7 separate regions of the Homo sapiens genome follow, and regions 2, 3, 4, 5, 6 and 7 are each linked to region 1. Evidence: promoter capture Hi-C in 16 types of primary human blood cells and fetal thymus (Javierre and others, 2016). All regions are on one chromosome and are shown on one strand. Each heading gives the region's core, a stretch centred on a gene start or on the middle of the fragment in contact. The rest is flanking DNA. Distances are from core to core; before and after follow the strand shown. Region 1 holds the start of NEUROD1 (neuronal differentiation 1). Region 2 has its middle 54 kb from the start of LINC01934. Region 3 overlaps UBE2E3 (ubiquitin conjugating enzyme E2 E3). Region 4 has its middle 35 kb from the start of LINC01934. Region 5 overlaps LINC01934 (long intergenic non-protein coding RNA 1934). Region 6 overlaps UBE2E3 (ubiquitin conjugating enzyme E2 E3). Region 7 has its middle 14 kb from the start of LINC01934.

Evidence for each region. The method cuts DNA at HindIII sites, captures the fragments that hold promoters and counts their contacts. A CHiCAGO score of 5 or more calls a contact.
Region 2: a contact is called between a fragment that was not itself captured here and the fragment with the promoter of NEUROD1 in region 1, in 14 of 17 cell types (non-activated CD4 T cells, total CD8 T cells, fetal thymus and 11 more). The highest score is 9.2, in non-activated CD4 T cells.
Region 3: a contact is called between a fragment that was not itself captured here and the fragment with the promoter of NEUROD1 in region 1, in 1 of 17 cell types (total CD4 T cells). The highest score is 5.4, in total CD4 T cells.
Region 4: a fragment that was not itself captured here is called in contact with the fragment with the promoter of NEUROD1 in region 1 in 8 of 17 cell types (non-activated CD4 T cells, naive CD4 T cells, total B cells and 5 more); the score reaches 8.1 in non-activated CD4 T cells.
Region 5: a contact is called between a fragment that was not itself captured here and the fragment with the promoter of NEUROD1 in region 1, in 2 of 17 cell types (M2 macrophages and neutrophils). The highest score is 6.6, in M2 macrophages.
Region 6: a fragment that was not itself captured here is called in contact with the fragment with the promoter of NEUROD1 in region 1 in 1 of 17 cell types (non-activated CD4 T cells); the score reaches 5.0 in non-activated CD4 T cells.
Region 7: a fragment that was not itself captured here is called in contact with the fragment with the promoter of NEUROD1 in region 1 in 3 of 17 cell types (M1 macrophages, total B cells and M2 macrophages); the score reaches 5.7 in M1 macrophages.

What each region holds. Positions count from the first base shown.
Region 1 is chr2:181,678,862-181,682,012 of GRCh38, reverse strand. NEUROD1 (neuronal differentiation 1) reads left to right here and starts at 1,496. Exons shown (of 2, transcript NM_002500.5): 1 at 1,496-1,583; 2 at 3,142-3,151. RefSeq lists an enhancer at 270-846. The HindIII fragment of the contact is 9,386 bases long and covers 1-3,151 here.
Region 2 is chr2:181,068,927-181,071,686 of GRCh38, reverse strand. No RefSeq gene overlaps it. Among named protein-coding and RNA genes, the nearest start is that of LINC01934, 54 kb to the left of the region's middle. The HindIII fragment of the contact is 267 bases long and covers 1,161-1,427 here.
Region 3 is chr2:181,047,841-181,050,862 of GRCh38, reverse strand. All of the region lies in intron 3 of UBE2E3 (ubiquitin conjugating enzyme E2 E3), which reads right to left. Among named protein-coding and RNA genes, the nearest start is that of UBE2E3-DT, 68 kb to the right of the region's middle. The HindIII fragment of the contact is 517 bases long and covers 1,254-1,770 here.
Region 4 is chr2:181,087,740-181,090,527 of GRCh38, reverse strand. No RefSeq gene overlaps it. Among named protein-coding and RNA genes, the nearest start is that of LINC01934, 35 kb to the left of the region's middle. The HindIII fragment of the contact is 984 bases long and covers 1,007-1,990 here.
Region 5 is chr2:181,127,912-181,131,050 of GRCh38, reverse strand. All of the region lies in intron 1 of LINC01934 (long intergenic non-protein coding RNA 1934), which reads right to left. Among named protein-coding and RNA genes, the nearest start is that of LINC01934, 5.6 kb to the right of the region's middle. The HindIII fragment of the contact is 2,432 bases long and covers 259-2,690 here.
Region 6 is chr2:181,028,215-181,030,964 of GRCh38, reverse strand. The region is part of intron 3 of UBE2E3 (ubiquitin conjugating enzyme E2 E3); the gene reads right to left. Among named protein-coding and RNA genes, the nearest start is that of UBE2E3-DT, 49 kb to the right of the region's middle. The HindIII fragment of the contact is 3,673 bases long and covers 1-2,750 here.
Region 7 is chr2:181,108,175-181,110,896 of GRCh38, reverse strand. No RefSeq gene overlaps it. Among named protein-coding and RNA genes, the nearest start is that of LINC01934, 14 kb to the left of the region's middle. The HindIII fragment of the contact is 1,196 bases long and covers 784-1,979 here.

The DNA of each region.
Region 1 (3,151 bases), core at 247-2,746:
GCAACAATATGGCTCCTTCAGAACTGGTCGAGAATTTCTGTGGTCTTTGCTTGACCTTCAAGTTGGGAGTTTCAAATCAGAGGCTTTGAAGTCTGGAGGAGTTCGCAGCCATTAATCCTTCCGGGGTTGTGCTAAAGGCGTTTCTAGAAAGAGATCGGAAAGACCCGTTCAGCACAGGCCCATTGCATCTTCTCTTTGAAAACGCTTGTCTGAATCAAGTATCTTATACAGACCCGAGACTGAGGGGAGCAAGAGCGCAGGTCCGGCTGTGGCGAGGTGTCCACCACCGTACTTGTGGTCAATGCCTGGACTAGAGAGCCGAGGCCGTCCAGGGCGGGCTGGCCAGGGAACCAGAAGCGTCCCTGGACTGGCTGAGTGAGGGTGCCCTTTCCAGCAACCCAGTGGCCATGGTTAAAAGGCAGAATACAACCGTCAAAGAAGTCCCCAGCTCCCACATAAGAGAGCGCAAAGGCCAATGGAACCAAGGCCTCCTCGCGAGAACTAGCTCGCTTTGAGGACAAGATCCTGGGGATGGAGGTGGGGACTGACGTAGTGAGAGGGTCTGGAGGAACAGTCGTAGCTGAAGGTCAGGACATGAAGAATTGCACGTATGGTAGGGATAGAATGGCAGGTACAACTTTTCTGTACTGAAGGAACTGGGAGAGGACGATCCGGTTAGGGAGGTTGGGGAACTAATCTCAACGCTGCGTTTACAGATGAAGCCGCTTTTATATGGCGTATATGTTTGCTTAGAGGGGCCGACGGAGATTAGGAGAAGCCATCCTTTGGCGCCAATGATCAAAGCGTCTGCCAAGGAGAAGAAGCCAAGGGATGGGCCTTTCAGAGAGGGCAAGGAGTCATGCTGCTCTGGATGCCAGTGTCAGGACAAGAAATCGAAAGGAGCGAGGACTCTTCACTGCGTGCCTCAGTCTCCCCGCTTCTGCCTCTTTCACCTCTGTCCTACTTCCGGCGCGAAAGCAGGCCACTCGCTCTGATCTAGACCTAGTTAACATTAGCTTTTCCCTTCCTTCCCTCAAATCCCCTCCCCCCTCTATCCCCGTCCCTTCTGCCGCCTGAAAGGGTTAATCTCTCCTGCGGGTAAAAACAGGTCCGCGGAGTCTCTAACTGGCGACAGATGGGCCACTTTCTTCTGGCCACAAAGGGGCCGGAATGGAGCGCTCCGCGGCATACAAATGGGCAGGTCACGTGGTTCCAGGCTCTTGGCTGGACCGGGAAGACCATATGGCGCATGCCGGGGAGGAAGGAGGAGGGGCGGGGGTAGGGGTGGAGGGTGAGGGGAGCGGTTGTCGGAGGAGGGCGGGAGACGAGCAAGGCGTGGGGAGAAGTGGGGAGGAGGGGAGAACGGGGAGCGCACAGCCTGGACGCGTGCGCAGGCGTCAGGCGCATAGACCTGCTAGCCCCTCAGCTAGCGGCCCCGCCCGCGCTTAGCATCACTAACTGGGCTATATAACCTGAGCGCCCGCGCGGCCACGACACGAGGAATTCGCCCACGCAGGAGGCGCGGCGTCCGGAGGCCCCAGGGTTATGAGACTATCACTGCTCAGGACCTACTAACAACAAAGGTAATTACAGTTCTTTCATTTTTTTGCCCCAGAATAGAAGCAATAACTGAAGACTGATGAACCTACATATTCTGTATGTGTGCGTTTGCGAGAGTGTGTATGTGTATTGAGACCAGCATCCCCCTCCATAATTGCCCATAAGTACTCACACATAATGAGTCGTGTCACTCAAGTACCCCCTGCAGGCTTTCTAATTTAAATTTTAAAAATTTGGGTTTCTTTTGTGGATAGCATAGGAGCTTCTTGGATTTTTTAAAAGAATGCACGGTAACTATGATTATCTGCTAGTGCTGATTTTAAAGTCCCAAAAGCAATAATGACTTCACTTTCTCACTTCTTACAGTAAGAAAAAAAAATCTATGTTATCAATATATATTTTGTGTGCATGTATTTTACGCACATTGGGAGTGTCAAGCTGTGTTTTCAGTGAATGAAAGGGACATGGATACCTTGAGTATTCACACCATGGAAAATAAATCAGGTTCAGAGATAGTTTAGTTGAGAGGGGGGAAAGTGGAGAAAGGGAGAGGGACTCACTCCTGCTACCTGTTACCGCTCCAGAGGCGGCCAAGTCCCCAGCAGCCACTACTGGAGCCAGAAATTCAGTTGTTTTACTAAAGGCTTTTTATTTTCCTTACTAGAAGCGGCAACTTCGCGGTTGCCAATCGCTGACCATTATAATTACTCAATCTTTTAAAGGGAGGTTTGAGGCGAACTTTGAAAAGCCCCAATAAAGAGCGGGCGGCCCTTTCAATGGGCTGTTTATTAGAGAGGAGCCTTCCGCACCTGATCCCCGGCGCGTGGGAGAGCGCTCTGCGCCGCGCCCCCAGCCCTCGCCCTGCAGCTAGCGCTTTTGTACAAGGTGGAAATTTAGCGGTGGGCCAGAGATGGAAGGCAAGAAAAGAAAGGCGAGGGAGGGGTGGAAGACCCTGTCCACTTTTGTTGCCAAATGTTACATTGATGGTGAAACAATTTGGTGGAAACTATTTTTCCTCCTTTCTGCATTTGCTTTTCAGTATCCCGTCGATGTAATCTTCTTAAAAATCGCTGCCAGTATTAGTAAATTACGCAATGGCTGTTCAACTTAAATCGCTAAGTATCTGGAAGCCAGGACAGAAATGGAAGTAGAATGTGTGATTTTACAGCTTTTTTTTTTTTTTATGGAGTTGTGAGTAACTTTGAACACATTTGGATAAACATGAAGTCGCTGAAATGTACAGTCATTTCCACACACATTATCCTGTCGGGCAACCACCATAAACACATTTAAGTTAATCACTAGGATACAAACACATATGCGTGAGTGGTGTACACATATACATATTCACTACCCTCCCCCAGTCCTGTCCTCACTCCTACGTACTAGCGGGGCACACGCACGCGCCATTATAAAACACTGCATTTAACTTTTTCTCAGAGGCATTCATTTTGTAATGGGCAGGTACTTTTCGCAAGCATTTGTACAGGTTTAGGGAGTGGAAGCTGAAGGCGTATCTGGCTTTTGAATATAGCGTTTTTCTGCTTTTCTTTCTGTTTGCCTCTCCCTTGTTGAATGTAGGAAATCGAAA
Region 2 (2,760 bases), core at 45-2,544, 610 kb after region 1:
ATCCAAAGGGAGAGAAGGCTTGTAACTGAGTCTTGCCACGGGACCAATGGTGGAAGTGAGGGTCACAGAAATTGGTCACTATGTCCTTCTCTGACCACCACATCCATAAAATAGAACAGGGAAGAATACTCAGTTTTCTAGAGTCATTTTTCCTCTAGCAAACTCAGGGACGTCATCTGCCACACCATCCACTGAGGCTTTTCCAAAGCTCTGTGTAACTCACCTTGGACACCCCTCTTCCTGACTAGACCATGATGACCTCTTTGGGAAACACAGCGTAACTATTTTTGTGTCCAGCATTTAAAGCAGTATTAACTTTCAGCAAATAATTGAATTTCTCTAGTTAAAATTGGTGTCAAGGTAGATTCTTCAATGACTTCAGGAAAATCACTTGAATGAAACAAAAATTAAGGTGCTAAAGATTCAAACAACTGCTAAACCATACCTGATGAAAAAGAGGAGCCATTCGAGCTGATATGGATGTTTTAATTGCATGTTCATTAACATGTTAACTATGAAATAAACGAAAGGCTCATCCAGATAGACAACTCAATCATTCATTTTTACACTTGACCACAAACGACTAGTTACTCTGCTGGACATTAATGGGTCACACAGATGTATGAACTGTCGTCTCCCCATTCTCACTTTCAGCCAATAACATCTCGTTTCATGGAGGAGTAGAAGCTACCAAAGAACTTCCTACGAACCACATCTACCCTCCAATCTCACCTATGCCCATGTCCTCTGCAAATTCACAACAAGGGCCAAACACCTCACTTGTACTAGATCCTATCCCCTCTTGCTTATCTAGGGGAACTCAAGAATTTGGTGAATGACAATGCTGCTGTAAGTGCTGGATGCTGCACTTCCCAAAGAGCTTCTGCTCTAGTCAGGGAGAAAGACAGATGTCCAAGGTAGTGCAGAACTTTGAAAACACCCTGAATAAATTATGTAGCAGATAACTTTTTCAAGGACACTGCTCCTCCTCCCCTACACCATCCACTTCCTCCTCTCTAATCTTTCCTATCAATATACAAACATGCTGTAATTTCTCCCATCTTAAAGAAACTCCAACTACTCCCTACTTCTCTATTTCACTGCAAAATTGTCAGGAGTCTCCAAGTTCTCTATTCCTTGTTACTTTATTCAATCAAGCTTTAATTTCATTGCTCCAACAAAATTGCATATAAAAGTCACCAGTGTCTAGGACTCCTGAGTTGCTAATGGCTATTTAGGTCCTTATTTTATTTGGCTTATCAGTAGTCTCTCATGGGGTAGATCATTCCCACCTCCTTGAAACTTTTTACTTCCCTTTCAGGTTATCACACTCTCCTGATTTTCCTTTCACTTCTTGAGCGTTCCTTCCTGGATTACTTTGCTGACTCATCTCTCCTCAGCCTCCTAATGCTGGGAGTGCCTAAGCTTCTTTCTTCTCTAGCAGCACTCATTCCCTTGAGTGAGTGATCATAGGTCTCACAGCTATAAATACCAACTACACACTCACGTGTCACAAATATACATCCCTGGCCCAGAACTCTTGAATTCCAAATTTGTATATCCAATCTTGCACTTCCATTTGGATGTTTAATAGGCATTTCAAACTTAACCTGTCAAAAACTAAGCTCATAATCTTTCTCCCTATCCTGCTTCACCCTCGAGTTTTTCACCTTGGTTAATGACAACTACAGCCTACTAGTTTGCTCAGGCCCTAAACTCTAACTCCTTTTTCACACCACATATTCAATCTATCAGCAAATCTTCTTAGCTCTATTTTTAACCAGAACCTGACCTTTTCTTACTACTTACACTGCCACCACCCAGGTTGAAGTCACTGGTATCTCTCACCTGGATTACTGCATTAGCCTCCTAACTGGTCCCCCTGCTCCCAATTCCTTAGCCCCACAGCAAGTTTTTCTCTGACTGATCAGATTCTAATAAATCATGTCCTGTTGCTCGTTGGCTAAAAACAGCTTCCAGTGGTGTCCCATCTTATTTAGAATACTAGCCAAACTCCTTAAAATGAAATACAAGACCCTATGTGATCTGCCCACCTGTCATCTTCTTGACCTGGCCTCCTATTCCTCTCCTAGTTGCTCACCTGCTCCAGCCCTCCTAAGCACTTGCTACCTTTTGAATGCATTGGGCATGCTCTTGTTACAAGATTTTTTCAGTTGGTATTCCCTCCGCCTGTAGGACTCTTTTCCTATGTGGCTTATTCCTCACCATCTTCAGCTCTTGACTCATTTTTTAGGTGAGGTCTTCCCCGACTACCCTTGTTATAACTGTAATTCAACCTCCCCTTTCTTTCTCCCTCACTGCACACACTATTTCCCTTCCCTACTTTGTTTTTCTCCATAACACTTACCATCTAACATACATATATGTGTGTGAGAATGTGTGCGTACGCACACACACACACACACATATATATATACACTTTTAAATTTTTTTGGTCTGTCTCCTAGCAATTGAAAGTAAACTCCATAAGGGTAGGAATTTTCGTGTATTTTATTCACTGCTAATCCTAAGCACCCAAACCAATATTCCAGTGTACACAACTAATAACTTACTGAATGAAATAAATTGGATCCCTTATTTCTAGGGGCTCATAATTGAGATGATATACATACACAAGTAAAACATTATATATGTCCTTAAAAAAAAATAACCATGGAAGAAAAAACATGGTGTCTCATGCATATTTAAAATGATCTTCACCATTTGAGAGTTCTGTGACCACAGCAAGAGTTTAGCAGA
Region 3 (3,022 bases), core at 263-2,762, 630 kb after region 1:
TATTAACATAACTAAAGAAAGAAAGAACATTTTATGGAGTGCCCACTCTTTGCCAGGTGCTTTATATCACATCTAACTCAATAGTAGTAATCCTGTTCGAGTATTTTTATCACAATTTCACAGATGAGAAACCGAGCCAGAAAGGTTAAGTGACTTGCCTAGGGTCGTATATGCAGAGCTAAGATTCTCTTCTAAAATGTCTTCACCACAAATTTGAAAGCAATAAATCCATACAAATATTTTTAATTACCCAGCTCCTGCCAAAAATAAAATGTAAACAGATTCAGAAATAAAGGTATCTAATCACGTACTAAAGGTGATTCTGTAATGGCTTCTACTCTACAGACTTTTAAATGCTTCATATAATTTGGATTATTAATTCTTTGTTCCATCTCTGCTTAAGTGTCTACTCTAAGAGTCCCTCCCAAACTTTAGGATTATATTTCTGAAGAGAATCCCGTTGAACAAAACAGCAGGTGACAAGATGAGTTTTAGAGTCTTTTAGCACTTAGGATGTGGGGATGGGAGGAAAAACAAAATGATATAAAATTCAAGTTTTGAAAGAGTTGAAGAAAACCCACAAGGTATCACCTTCAAAACAAATATGGCCATTTGCATTAAAAATCTATACTAGTATGTAACTCTTGCTTGAAACACCTTCAATAACTGTTCAGGAAATAGTGATCAGAGTATTGCCTTGTAAAGAAGTGGATTCTTTTCCTAAAATTTGTATTAAGCAGATTCTGATATGTAAGTTTTTGAACCATCCCTTACCAGCTTCACATCTTTTACATAAATTACTACAAATGCTTGTGTAACTTATTGGCCTTTTTGTAAATTACTGTGATGCCTGAAAGTAAGATTTTTGAAATCTAGTCTTCATTTCATATATTCAGGGTATGGCAAATAAATATATTTTTTCTTTCTGTCCAGCCCTAACAACCTTATCACATGGCCTACAGAAAAGTAGTAGTATTTCATAGTCTTTTGTTTAAAGGAATTAGATTGAACATAAAAATAAAATGGCTGGGTGTGCGTGCTATATACATACACATAAATTCAGTCTGCAAAACCATCTTCATTGAAGAATTAATAACTATTTCTGGCAGTCAGGTGTACATATAAAAAGACTGATGAAGTAAAAAAACTATGGCATCTGCCTAAAGGCTTCTATCTGCACAGATAATGCAATAATGCTTTCTTGATCTAGTAATTACCATATAGTCTTTCTTCAAAACTATTACTATAAAGCTTGTGCTTTGTCTATCTTAAGGCCTATTATGACAGTCATCATCCAAACGCAGTCAAGTCTATTGTGTATAATCATAAGAAACACTTTGTAAGAGAAGAATTCTGGTACAGGTATTTTTATTGCAAAGTACTGTACACTTATATAAATGTAGATGAAAACATTTCTACAAGTACAACCATACACAAGGTGAAATAATTTAAAAAACACACACAAACACACATCCAAGTCCAGTCAGTTAAACAACATTGTGAATAACTACTATGGACCAGGCACTGGGATGCCAGGATAAACTGTGGGTGTGGTGAAATTAAATATCAACATCTATAAGTATATTGTCTTTAGCCAATACTGTGGTCACAATTTCACACTTAAATCCCTTGTTTTTTATATTCACATTCATTGTGGTGTATAATATCCAACTTAGCTAAAATACCTACACTCAAAAAGCTGCTCTGTCCAGCAGATCCTTGACTTCTCTGCTAATGGTGACATAAAGAATATCTTTATCCTCTGAAGCTTCTTTACTCCCTCAGCTGAAATCTCCAGAAATCTCAACCCATCACCCTTTCTTCTCCTAGTTGCCGCTATTCTCTCAGCTGAGTTCTACTGCCCAAGAGAGGGAGAAAAGGTAATCTTAGCAATGAGTTGTTCATTTTAACAACCTTATCAAGGCGGCTGGGGCTCAGGAAAATCCTTAGGATGCAGAACAAATTTAATTATATGAAGTACATCAAATGCTAAATGGGCATGTGTGAAGTAGGCGGAGAACACAGGTAGCTTCTGTAATATTTTTCTAAAGTAAAGCCAAACCTCTATATTGCTTTCCAAACTTCAAAAACTGTTTATAAGTGAACAGTTGTTATTCCTGAGTGTTTTAGAAAGAATCATATTTATTTAGGTTGAAAGCAATTAGGAGTTCACAATTAGGGAAAGCTATAATACAGACAATTAGGGTGAGAGGAGTGGCTGGGGAAATAACGTAGAAAAATAATTCTACTAACTAAAAGGGCAGACCTAGGTATGTGCTAGTGGTTCCCATGATTTTATCTTCCTACTCCTCTTCCCAAGAATGACCTCGTTTTGGTAAATGTGTGAATTCTTATGTAATCTCTATAACAACCAACCAGGAAATGGTATTGCTTATTAATCCATACTGTGCCTTGTGAACCTATGAATTTACTTTGAATCAAAAAAAGTATTTAAGCTTTAACAATATACAAAATACAGTACTTGTTAGATTCAATAAAGAAAACAAATTCATTCATTCATTAAGGAGTTATTGAGTGTCTACGATTTGGGGCTAGGAATCTGTACAAGAAACTAAATATACAATGGAGATTTCAGCCAAGCTGAGGATATAGATCTTAATCAAATAAACTCACAAAAAAACATAAAACAGAAAACGCTACAAAGGCAAGGTATTCCTTGTTGAATGCCGGGGAAATGTTAGAGAGATAAGGGAAGAGTCAGAGGAAGCAATATTTAAAAGATTATTTCAAATACCCCAGTGGGGGTTTATCAGTAGAAGCTGAAAGGAAAGGGCTGGGAAAGAGGACTTCAAAGCATAGGAAAATGCCCTGAGGCCATCAGGAACAAGTAGCAGGGCCTGGAAGCACAATGTGGCAGAAGGGAAGAGAACATGGGAAGTACAATGAAACGACCTAATGAGGGAAGCTGTAACAAACGTCTAGGCAGGACCTTGTAAGACTACATGAAGGAGACTTGTCTTTATATTAAAAGAAATAGGCAGCTATCAAAAGATTTTAAGCA
Region 4 (2,788 bases), core at 249-2,748, 590 kb after region 1:
TTTGTGTTCTTCTCTAAATTGGTTATTCTAGTTGGCAATTCCTCTAACCTTTTATCAAGGTTCTTAGCTTCCCTGCATTGGGTTAAAACATGCTCCTTTAGCTCGGAGGAGTTTGTTATTACCCATCTTCTGAAGCCTACTTCTGTCAATTCATCAAACCCATTCTCCATACAGTTTTGTTCCCTCGCTGGTGAGGAGTTGTGATCCTTTGGAAGAGAAGAGTCATTCCGGTTTTTGAAATTTTCAGCCTTTTTGCGCTGGTTTTTCCTCATCTTCTTGGATTTATTTACCTTTGGTCTTTGCTGTTGGTGACCTTCAGATGAAGTTTTTGTGTTGTCGTCCTTTTTGTTGATGTTGATGCTATTGCTTTCTGTTTGTTAGTTTTCCTTCTAACAGTCAGGCCCCTCTTCTGCAGGTCTGCTGGAGTTTGCTGGGGGTCCACTCCAGACCCTGTTTGCCTGGGTATCACCAGCAGAGGCTGCAGAACAGCAAAGATTGCTGCCTGCTCCTTCCTCTGGAAGCTTCGTCCCAGAGGGGCACCCAGCAGATGCCAGCCAGAGCTCTCCTGTATGAGGTGTCTGTTGATCCCTGCTGGGAGATGTCTCCCAGTCAGGAGGCACGGGGGTCAGGGACCCACTTGAGGAGGCAGTCTGTCCCTTACCACAGCTAGAGCACTGTACTGGGAGATCCGCTGCTCTCTTCAGAGTCAGCAGGCAGGAATGTTTAAGTCTCCTGAAGCTGTGCCCACAGCCGCCCGTTCCCCCAGGTGCTCTGTCCCAGGGAAATGGGAATTTTATCTATAAGCCCCTGACTGGGGCTGCTGCCTTTCTTTCAGAGATGCCCTGCCCAGAGAGGAGGAATCTAGAGAGGCAGCCTGGCTACAGTGGCTTTGTGGCATTGTGGTGGGCTCCAAGTCCAAACTTCCAGGGAGCTTTGTTTACACTGTGAGGGGAAAACCACCTACTCAAGCCTCACTAATGGCAGATGTCCCTCCCTCCACCAAGCTTGAACGTCCCAGGTCTACTTCAGACTGCTGTGCTGCCAGTGAGAATTTTAAGCCAGTGGATCTTAGCCTGCTGGCCTCCGTGGGAGTGGGATCCACTGAGCAAGACCACTTGGCTCCCTGGCTTCAGCCCCCTTTCCAAGGGAGTGAACAGTTCTCTCTTGCTGGCATTCCAGATGCCACTGGGATATGAAAAAAAAATTCCTGCAGCTAGCTTGGTGTCTGCCCAAACAGCCACCCAGTTTTGTGCTTGAAACCCAGGGCCCTGGTGATGAAAGCACCTGATGGAATCTCCTGGTCTGTGTGTTGTGAAGATGTGGGAAAAGCATAGTATCTGGGCCAGAATGCACTGTTCCTCACACACAGTCCCTCATGGCTTCCCTTGGTTAGGGGAGGGAGTTCCCGATCCCTTGTGCTTCCTGGGTGAGGTGACGCCCCACCCTGCTTCTGCTTGCCCTCTGTGGGCTGCACCCACTGTCTAACCAGTCCCAATGAGATGAACCTGGTACCTCAGTTGGAAATGCAGAAATCATCCGCCTTCTGCATTGGTCTCACTGGGAGCTGCAGACCAGAGCTGTTCCTATTCTGACATCTTTCCCAGGATATCCAATCTGATTTCTTACTCCTTCTCAACACACATATTTTCCTACAACTATATTTAAGCACATAATCTACCAAATGCACTTTTTCATATCATGTTATTACTACCATCTTCTCCCATCTTCTGTTCCCCAATTCCTATAAAGGTTCAGCTCAATGGCCCCTTCTTCCAGGAAGCCTTCTTGATTATTCCAGCTTAGAGCTACCTCCTGGCCACCCTAATGTCTTTAGTATATATATATCACTAATTTGATTTCTTATCCCTATCTTTTCACATGTATACATTTTAGGGAAGGCGCTTGTAAATTTACTAAAAGTAACTGAAAACGTCATTGAGTTTCATTGCTTAATGTTATAGAGAAAAATGACAAGGAAGTTGCCTAAGCTTTTCCACTTTTTGGCTGTTTTATGCAGAATTATATATAATAATAAAATCTGGTTAATTTTCATTTCTTTGAGTTTTTAATAATTTTGTGGCACAATGCTTTGGCTAATGCTTGAAAATGGATCTTCACCATAAGCATGGGCTACAAAACATTTAATTTGGGGCAGATAAGACTCAGGCTCTACTAGTGTGTAGAGCATACCCATTGTGCTTATTTATCAAATGCTCAGTGAATTATCTCTTTACAAAGACTCCCGATTAGCACTATGTATAGTTTCCTAGGCACAACGTACTTTTGACTGACGGTTTTCAATCAACATTGCATCCCTTTACACACAGGGAATGAATCAAATTATTCTGTTGCTGTTTCTATAAATGTAAAAATGTAATTTTGGAGCCATAAAGCTGTCTCCACAAACACTTTGTCTTCTTTTTCTTGGTTACTTTTTGTTTCACATCACTTAAGAAATCAGAGTGACCATGGCGTGCTGTGCTCTGTATGGGACATATTTTTGCTTTATTTCATTGGTTGAGTATTGTATTGGAGTACCACTAAACAGCACTATAATAGTGCACTACTTGGGAGAAACATTATTTTTTTGGCTAACTCCATTAAAAATCACTGAAAATTACAAGTACAGAAATTTAAAAAAAGAATAAAGCTATGAAAATGGAACACCAGTGTTTTATGGCATATGAAATGCCCCTCTCACACAAAGCACATAAATGTTTAACCAGCAAGAGGCATCCTTTTAGGAGGCTGTCACTATAGCAGGTATGCTATAGTGGCTGTTACCAAA
Region 5 (3,139 bases), core at 225-2,724, 550 kb after region 1:
ATTAATCTTATATTGAACATGCTCTTTAGCTGAAAGTAAACAAAAGTAAATTAAGGTGAAATTTGCAACCAGAGCATACTGCACTATGCTGAAACTTAGAGAAGCTCTGTTTGTAGTATTTGTGATGCTTCACTGTTGTAGATGAAACAGACTTAAAGTGCTGACGCTGAGTTATGAAATCTCTTGGACAAGGTCCGAGATATTCCTATAATGAGGTCCATCTTAGTGGTTAAGGAACCCAGAGGTTTTGGAAAAGCTTTATTCCTAATGGAAGAACATGTCTTATTTTCACAAAGCAACAATAACAAATTTATCTAAATTTTTAATATAATTATTCACTGAACAATTTTTTCATCTAAATCGCAGTTTATGATCAATAAAGCATGTAAAATTTGCATCTATTGGTTATTATATATAGTCACTAAAATTAGCCTGCACCAAGTAATCATTGTTTTTATTTCTGAGAAATATTTTCTTTGCATTTTCTAAACAAAATTTTAGTGCTTATATCTGTCATAATCTGAAATTTCATATAAACCTCAATTTTTACATTTCTATCAATATATTACATGTTTGCATTTGATTTAAAAAACTATGTGTGTGCTTATGGAGAAAGAGACAGAGATAAGGACAGAGAGAAAGAATACAAAAGAGAATGGGGTTAATAGATAATATATAAATTTAAAAATATTCAAGTTAATTTTTTATATGAGATAACTAATGTGTGGATCATAAAATGAAATATTAGAAATTTTGCTACACATAATAAATTTTAAATTATAAAATTTAAAATATGCTTATTTTAAAGATTTCCATATTCATGTATGAAAACATTAGTATACTGTTCATTATGTTTTCCATAGCATGCCTGCTTTTCTTGAGTTCTGTGATCATTTTTACATCTGAATCCTGTGAAAACATTTATCAAGCTCTCTAAATAAAAATTATTTTTATAACTATTCCTCTCTCAGCATTTCTTCTTATTTATACAGTAACAGATAACATTATGATGTAGGATTTTTCTTCTTAGTCACTTTGCAAGCCGGGACCTCTGGCTGGCGACACCCTGCCCAGATCCCACTAGGCCATGCTGGTGTGTCCCAGCTCACTTGTGTTATAGTTTGTACCCACATTCGGTGGTTCCCCAGCTCTTGTACTGCACCCAGGAAAATGAGGATATGCTGGACACCGAAGAGTGAGGAGGACAGAGAAGAATTTTATTGAGCAATGAAACAGCTTTCAGTGGAGAGGGGATGTGGGGGTGGCCCTCCTACCCAAAGGCAGGAAATTTCCTTGTGTGACTTGGTCCAAGGCCTTTTATGGGTTGAGAATGGGGAATGCATACTAATTGGTTTGTGAGTATGCAAAAAAGGTTAAAGTGAAAATACCACTCAAAGGTGGGCAGGACAGTGTAGAAAACCAATTAGGAAAGGGTAGGTATATGTAAAATAGGTGATTGGGGGGATGAATCAGAGGAATGTGCCAAACAGGAAGAGGTGTTCTCAACCTGGTCCAAGGATTTAATTTGTAGCTTGGCTATCAGGCTTTAAACTGTCTTTGACTTGGAGGTGGGGTTTAACCAAAAACACAGCCCTATCTGCCTAGGCATTTGGCTGCCTCCTGCCACTCTCAGTCAGTACATATGTACATTTAAGAAATAAAGACATTGTATTTTGTATTATTTGATGGAGCTTTACTAGAAATAAATTATATGCATTCTGTTTTAACATGAGAACAGAAAATTATAAATCTTAGTGGAGAGACTACAAGTATAGGGTAGGTAGGTCAATGACATTTATAAAGAACATTATCTTTTTAAATTTTTTTATTTTTATTATTATACTTTAAGTTCTAGGGTACATGTGCAGGTTTGTTACATAGGTATACATGTGCCATGTTGGTTTGCTGCACCCATCAACTCATCATTTACATTAGGTATTTCTCCTAACGCTATCCCTCTCCCAGCCCCCCACCCCCCAACAGGCTCCAGTGTGTGATGTTCCTCATCCTGTGTCCATGTTTTCTCATTGTTCAACTCCCACTTATGAGTGAGAACATGTGGTGTTTGGTTTTCTGTCCTTGTGATAGTTTGCTGAGAATGATGGTTTCCAGCTTCATCCATGTCCCTACAAAGGACATGAACTCATCCATTTTTATGGCTGCATAGTATTCCATGGTGTATATGTGCCATATTTTCTTTTTTATTATTATTATACTTTAAGTTTTAGGGTACATGTGCACAACGTGCAGGTTTGTTACATATGTATACATGATCTTAAACAACTGTCCATTAACAAGCCAACAACTGTCCATTAACAAGCCCCTGAGCATACTGCTTGGCGGACACATTTAAAATACAGAGAAGAGCCTGCTAAGACCTTGATTTCAATTACTCTGAAGTTTCTTGTGGGGTAACCTTAGATGTCCATGAGGAAAGGCCATTGTAGTTAGTACATTTTTTATGACTAATAAGATTGAAGTACATTATCTAGTTGAGTTTTAGGTTTCAAGAGTTTAAAAAGGGTAAAGATGTTAAACTTTACTACTAAGCAAAACCCTGGAGTACTAGAGATTCCTCTCTGTAGAAACCTGTCTTGTCAAAAGTTTTTGAGTTGCTGTCTAATATCTATACTTACTTTTATCAGAACATAACTGAAATTACTGTTGCATATTAATAGTGAAAGCAAGCTTCTCAGCTAATCAACAGATGCAAACTTCCCCCATGGTTCTAATAATGTGGGCTTTCAGAATAGTTTTATGATTCAAGAAGTCTAGCTCATTAATTTTGAAAAGGACACTGCAAAACATACACAAACAAAAAACATTTTGCAGAAGAGTTAACTTAAAGGAACAAAAGGAGAAAGCTCATCATGAGTCTGGTGGACTGCTCTTTATGCAAAAGGAGTATTTGTACTTCTTTATTTTCATGTTTCCTTTGAGTTCTGCTGGTTCAGGTTCACATAATCAAAAGACTTCTATCCTAAACAAGTGATTGTCACTGTCCAGCATTTAACACAATAGCAAACAATTACAAACTGCTACAATTTGTTGCTGTTTCATGATTTTTAAGCATGCATGTGAGAAAGTTAGAATTGCTACATCGCATTAGTCCATCACTCCCGACTTCTTTTCACATTAT
Region 6 (2,750 bases), core at 122-2,621, 650 kb after region 1:
TAAACTAGTGAAACACAACACAAACACAAAATAGTGTCAATAAAAACTAAAATTTTTTTTAAATTTTTGGGTCAAGACTAATAAAACATAGAAACCTTGTGACAAGACAGAGAGAAGACAGAAATAACAGACATGAAAAAAATAAATGCTCTAATTCCTAGAAAAATTCAACCTACTAAAAAGAACAGACTAAGTGAATACTGGTTATACAATATAGAGATGGGACTTGTAGTTAATTTCCACCTTTTCCCCACCTTATCCCAAATACAAAACCACCAGGTCCACATAGTTTTACAGGAGACTTCTATCAAATTTCAAGTGAGATCATTCCACTCTTAAAACGCTTCTGAGAATCAAAAATAAAAAATAAAAAAATAATTTTTTTTCTCTGAGGCCAGTATTAAAAACAGGCTAATTAGGTGTAAGAAAAAAAGAAGCCAATCTCAAATCATGAACACACATGTAAGACTCTTAGTAACAAATCATATCCAAGACTGTTCATATTGAAAAAAGATAATATATATTGCCAAATTGGAAATGCAAAGTTAGTCTGACATTAGAAAAATATACACATTCTGAGATGAGATCGTGCCACTGCACTCCAGCCTGGGCGACAGAGCAAGACTCCGTCTCAAAAAATAAATAAATAAATAAATACAAAAGAAAAATATACATATTCAATTTATCATATTAATAGATTAAAGCAAAACCATATGATTATTACTTTAGTAGATAAAGTATTCATTAAAATTTAATGCCCAATGAAGAGTTTACATAAGGCCACCACCACCACCACCAAAGACAACCAAAATACTTTCATGGAAAAATAGAGGAGCCAGGTGTGGTGGCTCACACCTGTAATCGCAGCACTTTGGGAGGCCGAAGCAGGTGGATCATGAGGTCAAGGAATCAAGAAAATCCTGGCCAACATGATGAAACCTGGTCTCTACTAAAAATACAAAAATTAGCCAGGCATGGTGGCGGGCGCCTGTAGTCCCAGCTCGGGAGGCTGAGGAAGGGGAATCACTTGAACCCTGGAGGCAGAGGTTGCAATGAGCCGAGACTGCACCACTGCACCCCCACCTGGCGACAGAGAGAGACTCCGTCTCAAAAAAAAAAAAAAAAGGGACCGAATTAATTGATAAAGAATACCTTTTCAAACACCCACGCCAAACATCAATATTAAAGATGACAAGTTTATACCGCTCCATTTAAAACATGGAACAAGAAAAGAAGCTCAATTATGACTTGGTTGTCCTAGACAGTAAAGTAAGAAACAGAACTTAAAAAAAAAAAAAAAAAAAAGATTGTCTACAGATAAAAATCAAAGAATGTAATGTATAAGCAAATTATTAGAATTAAAAAGAACATTTATACAAGGTTGCTAGATAAAAAACAAGTTTTTAGATAAAACTTACAAAAGCATCAAAAATATTAAACTCCTAGAAATAAATTTAGCAAAAGATGTACAATACTTGAATACAGAAAATTACAAAGCAAAATCAGAATTAAAGAAATCCTAAATAAATGAGGGTGATACAGTATGTTTATGAAAAAGAAAATTCAACATTTTTAAGAATTCTACTTCTAATTTCTCAAATTCAATAAAATTCTAATTAAAACCACAAGAATACTTTTCCAAGGAATTTGATAAGCTGATTCTCATTTTATATGAATGCGTCAGGCAGCTCCTAATGAAAATACAGATACTTGTCCTACTAGATATCAAGACTCATTAGAATTATAGTAATTAAAACTATATCATGTACTATTTGTGCAGAGATAGACAACTTGATGAATAGAATGGAAGAGCCCAACACAGAACTAGGCAAAAAAAGAATCATGAAATGACAGATGGCACTCTAGCCACTGGACTATTCAATAAAGTTACTAAAACAAATAGTTATCCATATGGAGAAAAATGAAATTGGACTACTACCTTACCCTTTTCAAAGAATCAATTCCAAATAAATTTGGAACACTAAGGGCAAGCCTTTGAAAAAAAAATAAAGATATCCTCGAGACCTTGGGACAGAAAGTAATTTCTTAACCATGACACAAAAAGTGCTAATCATATAAGAGACTGATAAATTTAACTACCATTTAAATTCAGTTCTTTTCACTAATATACCATAAAAGAACCAAGTCATTAACAGAGAGAAGATTTTTGCAACATATATGTACAAAAGGCATCTGTATCCACAATACATAAGAACCCCTAATAAAACAAAATTGGGGGCAGGGGGACAAATAACAAAAAAAAGGCATTTCACAGAAATGAGAATGGAAGATAAACATAAAAAAATTGTTCAACCTCATTATTAGGAAATGCAAATTAAAACCATGATGAAATACTATTTTTATACCCATAGATTAGGAAAAATCAAGAAGTCTGAAGATTGTCAGAGTTGATAAACCTGCAGCGCAAAGAGAACTATTGCACTTTGCTGGTGGAAATGTGTATCAGTGTATCACCAATTTGGCATTATCTTGCATGGTTGAATATGCACGTTCTCTGTGAGACTCACCTATTCCACTCTTAGATATACAATGAAAGAATTTACTCACATATTACTAGAACACATGTTCAGTAATCTTCACAGTACGATTGTTCATAGTGACAAAAAACAAAATAAACATGGAACACCCAATATACCCTACTACAATGAATACAAGTATATCCACGTAATAAAATCGTATACAGCATGAAATTTAACTATAGCTACATGCCAAGACTCAAATAAATCTTA
Region 7 (2,722 bases), core at 132-2,631, 570 kb after region 1:
GTGGGAGTATCACCTAAGCTCAGGAATTTGAGACCAGCCTGGCAACCATAGTGAGAATTCATCTCTACAAAAATCTTAAAAAATTAGCCAGGCATGGTGGTGCGCATCAGTAGCCCCAGCTAGTTGAGAGGTTAATATGGGAGGATAGCTTAAGCATGGGAAGCTGCAGTGCGCTTTGATCACGCCAATGCACTCCAGCCTGGATGACAGAGCAAAATTCTGTCTCAAGCAAAAACAAAAACCAATGCATTTGAGGAGGTCACCATTCCCTCAATATTACTCTTATTGACTTCCGACCACATGGTGTCTTCATTTCCTTGTGTTGGATTACAAAAACTGAGAGGAAGATAACAGAAAGATGATTGAAGTACATAAAGCCACTACAGATAAACTTCATTTTCTCACAATCTTGTCTGGGACTTCTCTTGATTATGAAGACATAACTCTGTAGATAAAAATGTAAACAGCCTTTCTCCATTAAGATTACCTCCTTTTTTTCTCATATTTAAGGTCCAATAAATTAAATGTATTTTGAAAAAAACTGGCATATATAAAAACATTTTACTAGCTGGATTTGTATCTACTTATTGACTTTCACTGTAATTTTAGGATTCAAAAAATATAAATCCTAAAAGTTAATTTAAATATCACCTGTGAGAATATGAGTGTTTACCTCTACATGCTTGGGATGAGAAAATCTTGCCTTTAGCCACTGCATCACCATCAGTATCCCATTGCTACTTCTAGAGTCTAGAATCTAGACCACTCATCTTTCTCTAAGCTTTGAGTGCCATATTATCATACATTATCACCACTCCTCTCCCTGTGGATCATCAACCAACTATTGGGTCATTTCCCATCATTGTTTGAATAATCATTCCCAACCAGCTCTGAAAACCCCATATCCTAAATTAGATTTCAGATGTTATCCAATCCTTTTTAACAAGTCTTCCTTCCTCTTTTAATAAAACTTGATGATATCTACTTATTTCAGCTCCTCCACAAAAGCATTCCATAATCCTTCTAGCCCAGTGATTTTCAAACTTCACTTTGGATCACTTGGGCACTTCAATAAAATGCAGACTTTGATTCAGTATATCTGGATGGAGCCTAAAATTATTTATTTCTGAAGCTCTTAGGTGATGCCAATGCTCCTGGTTCTCAGACAAACGTGGAGGAACAAAGTTCTAGCCTACCATGGTATCAACTTACTCTAAATTCATATAAGGCAGGCAGGCACCATATATGATTTATTCATCTTTGTATCTCCAGTGAGTCAGAATGCTTGACATATCACAATGCTCAATAAATATAAATGTTTGCTAAATAAATTGATGGACTGAATGAATAAATGTGTAACATTCTCTCTGACACTTAGAAAATTCTACTTAAGACAGATTGTTTTTTCTTTTTTTGAGACAGAGTCTCGCTCTGTCACCCAGACTGGAGTGCAGTGGCATAATCTCTGCTCATAGTAACCTCCCCTTCCCCGGTTCAAGAGATTCTCCATGTCTCAGCCATCAGAGTGGCTGAGGTTATAGGTGTGTGCCACCACACCCGGCTAATTTTTGTATTTTTAGTAGAGACAGGGTTTTGCCATGTTGGCCAGGCTAGTCTCTAATTCCTGAGCTCAAGTGATTCACCTACCTCAGCCTCCCACAGTGCTGGGATTACAGGCATCAGCCACCACATCCAGCCCAGACAGAATATTTTTATATGCACTTTTTCTTTGAAATGTAGTTGAGGGCAGGTATGCTCTACATTTCTCTGTATCTTTAAAGGCCGGTATGTGCCGTTTGTGCCCACAGAAAATAGGCACTCAATATAAATATTGACTAAACAATCAATTAATAAAAGGATTGATGGGATTGATTGAATAAGTAACTGGAAAAGAAGGGGCATCAGGTATAGTCTGCACTTGAGGTACCTAGAAGGTATGAATCATTTAACAAGGTGGCTGTACTTACAGACAGAAAGCTTCAAGTCCAGCATAGGCAGAGCTAGAGAGCAGAAATACTAAAATGAGTAACCAGGAAAAATGCATTTTGTAGACACAGACACACTCTAACGAGAAAATTACTTCAGTTAGTTAAAATGCCAAGCCAGTGGTTGATATGCTTGGGAATAAAACCAAGCATTATTGCATGGGTAGGCAGATGGTGCTTTTTTTTTCCTTAATTCAAAGCTTCATTTTTGTAAATAACAATGGAAATTGAACAACTGGCGAATATTAAGCTTTACAGACTATGTTAAGAGTTTTCAGAAGTGAATTTCCTCAACAATTTCTGCCTTTGGCATATTTAAATGTATACTGACTTGTGGTATTATTCATTCAATATTTCACATCTATGTGTTATCTTCACAACTGGGCTGTAGCCACCCAGAAATAGGGACTTTATTCATGCACATGGTGGGCACACAGTGATACCTGCTGAAAAAATAAAAAATTAGAAAAACTTGGATGACACACAACTCTAGTTTCTGGTATTGAGCAGAGACGAGCAAGGGTGGGCCTGGAAGTGAAATCTGAGGCATGTTACTTGAGTGAATTATCAGACTGGAGAAGAAAACTCCATGTACATTAGATATGAACTTCTTTCTTTCTTTTTTTTCCCATTATATTCTCAGAAGATGAACTAACGTAGAATTCTGGCAATGACTGGTTCTTTAAAAATAGCATATCATGTAAATAAATGAAAACTATAGTGCCCCTGAAGTTTTC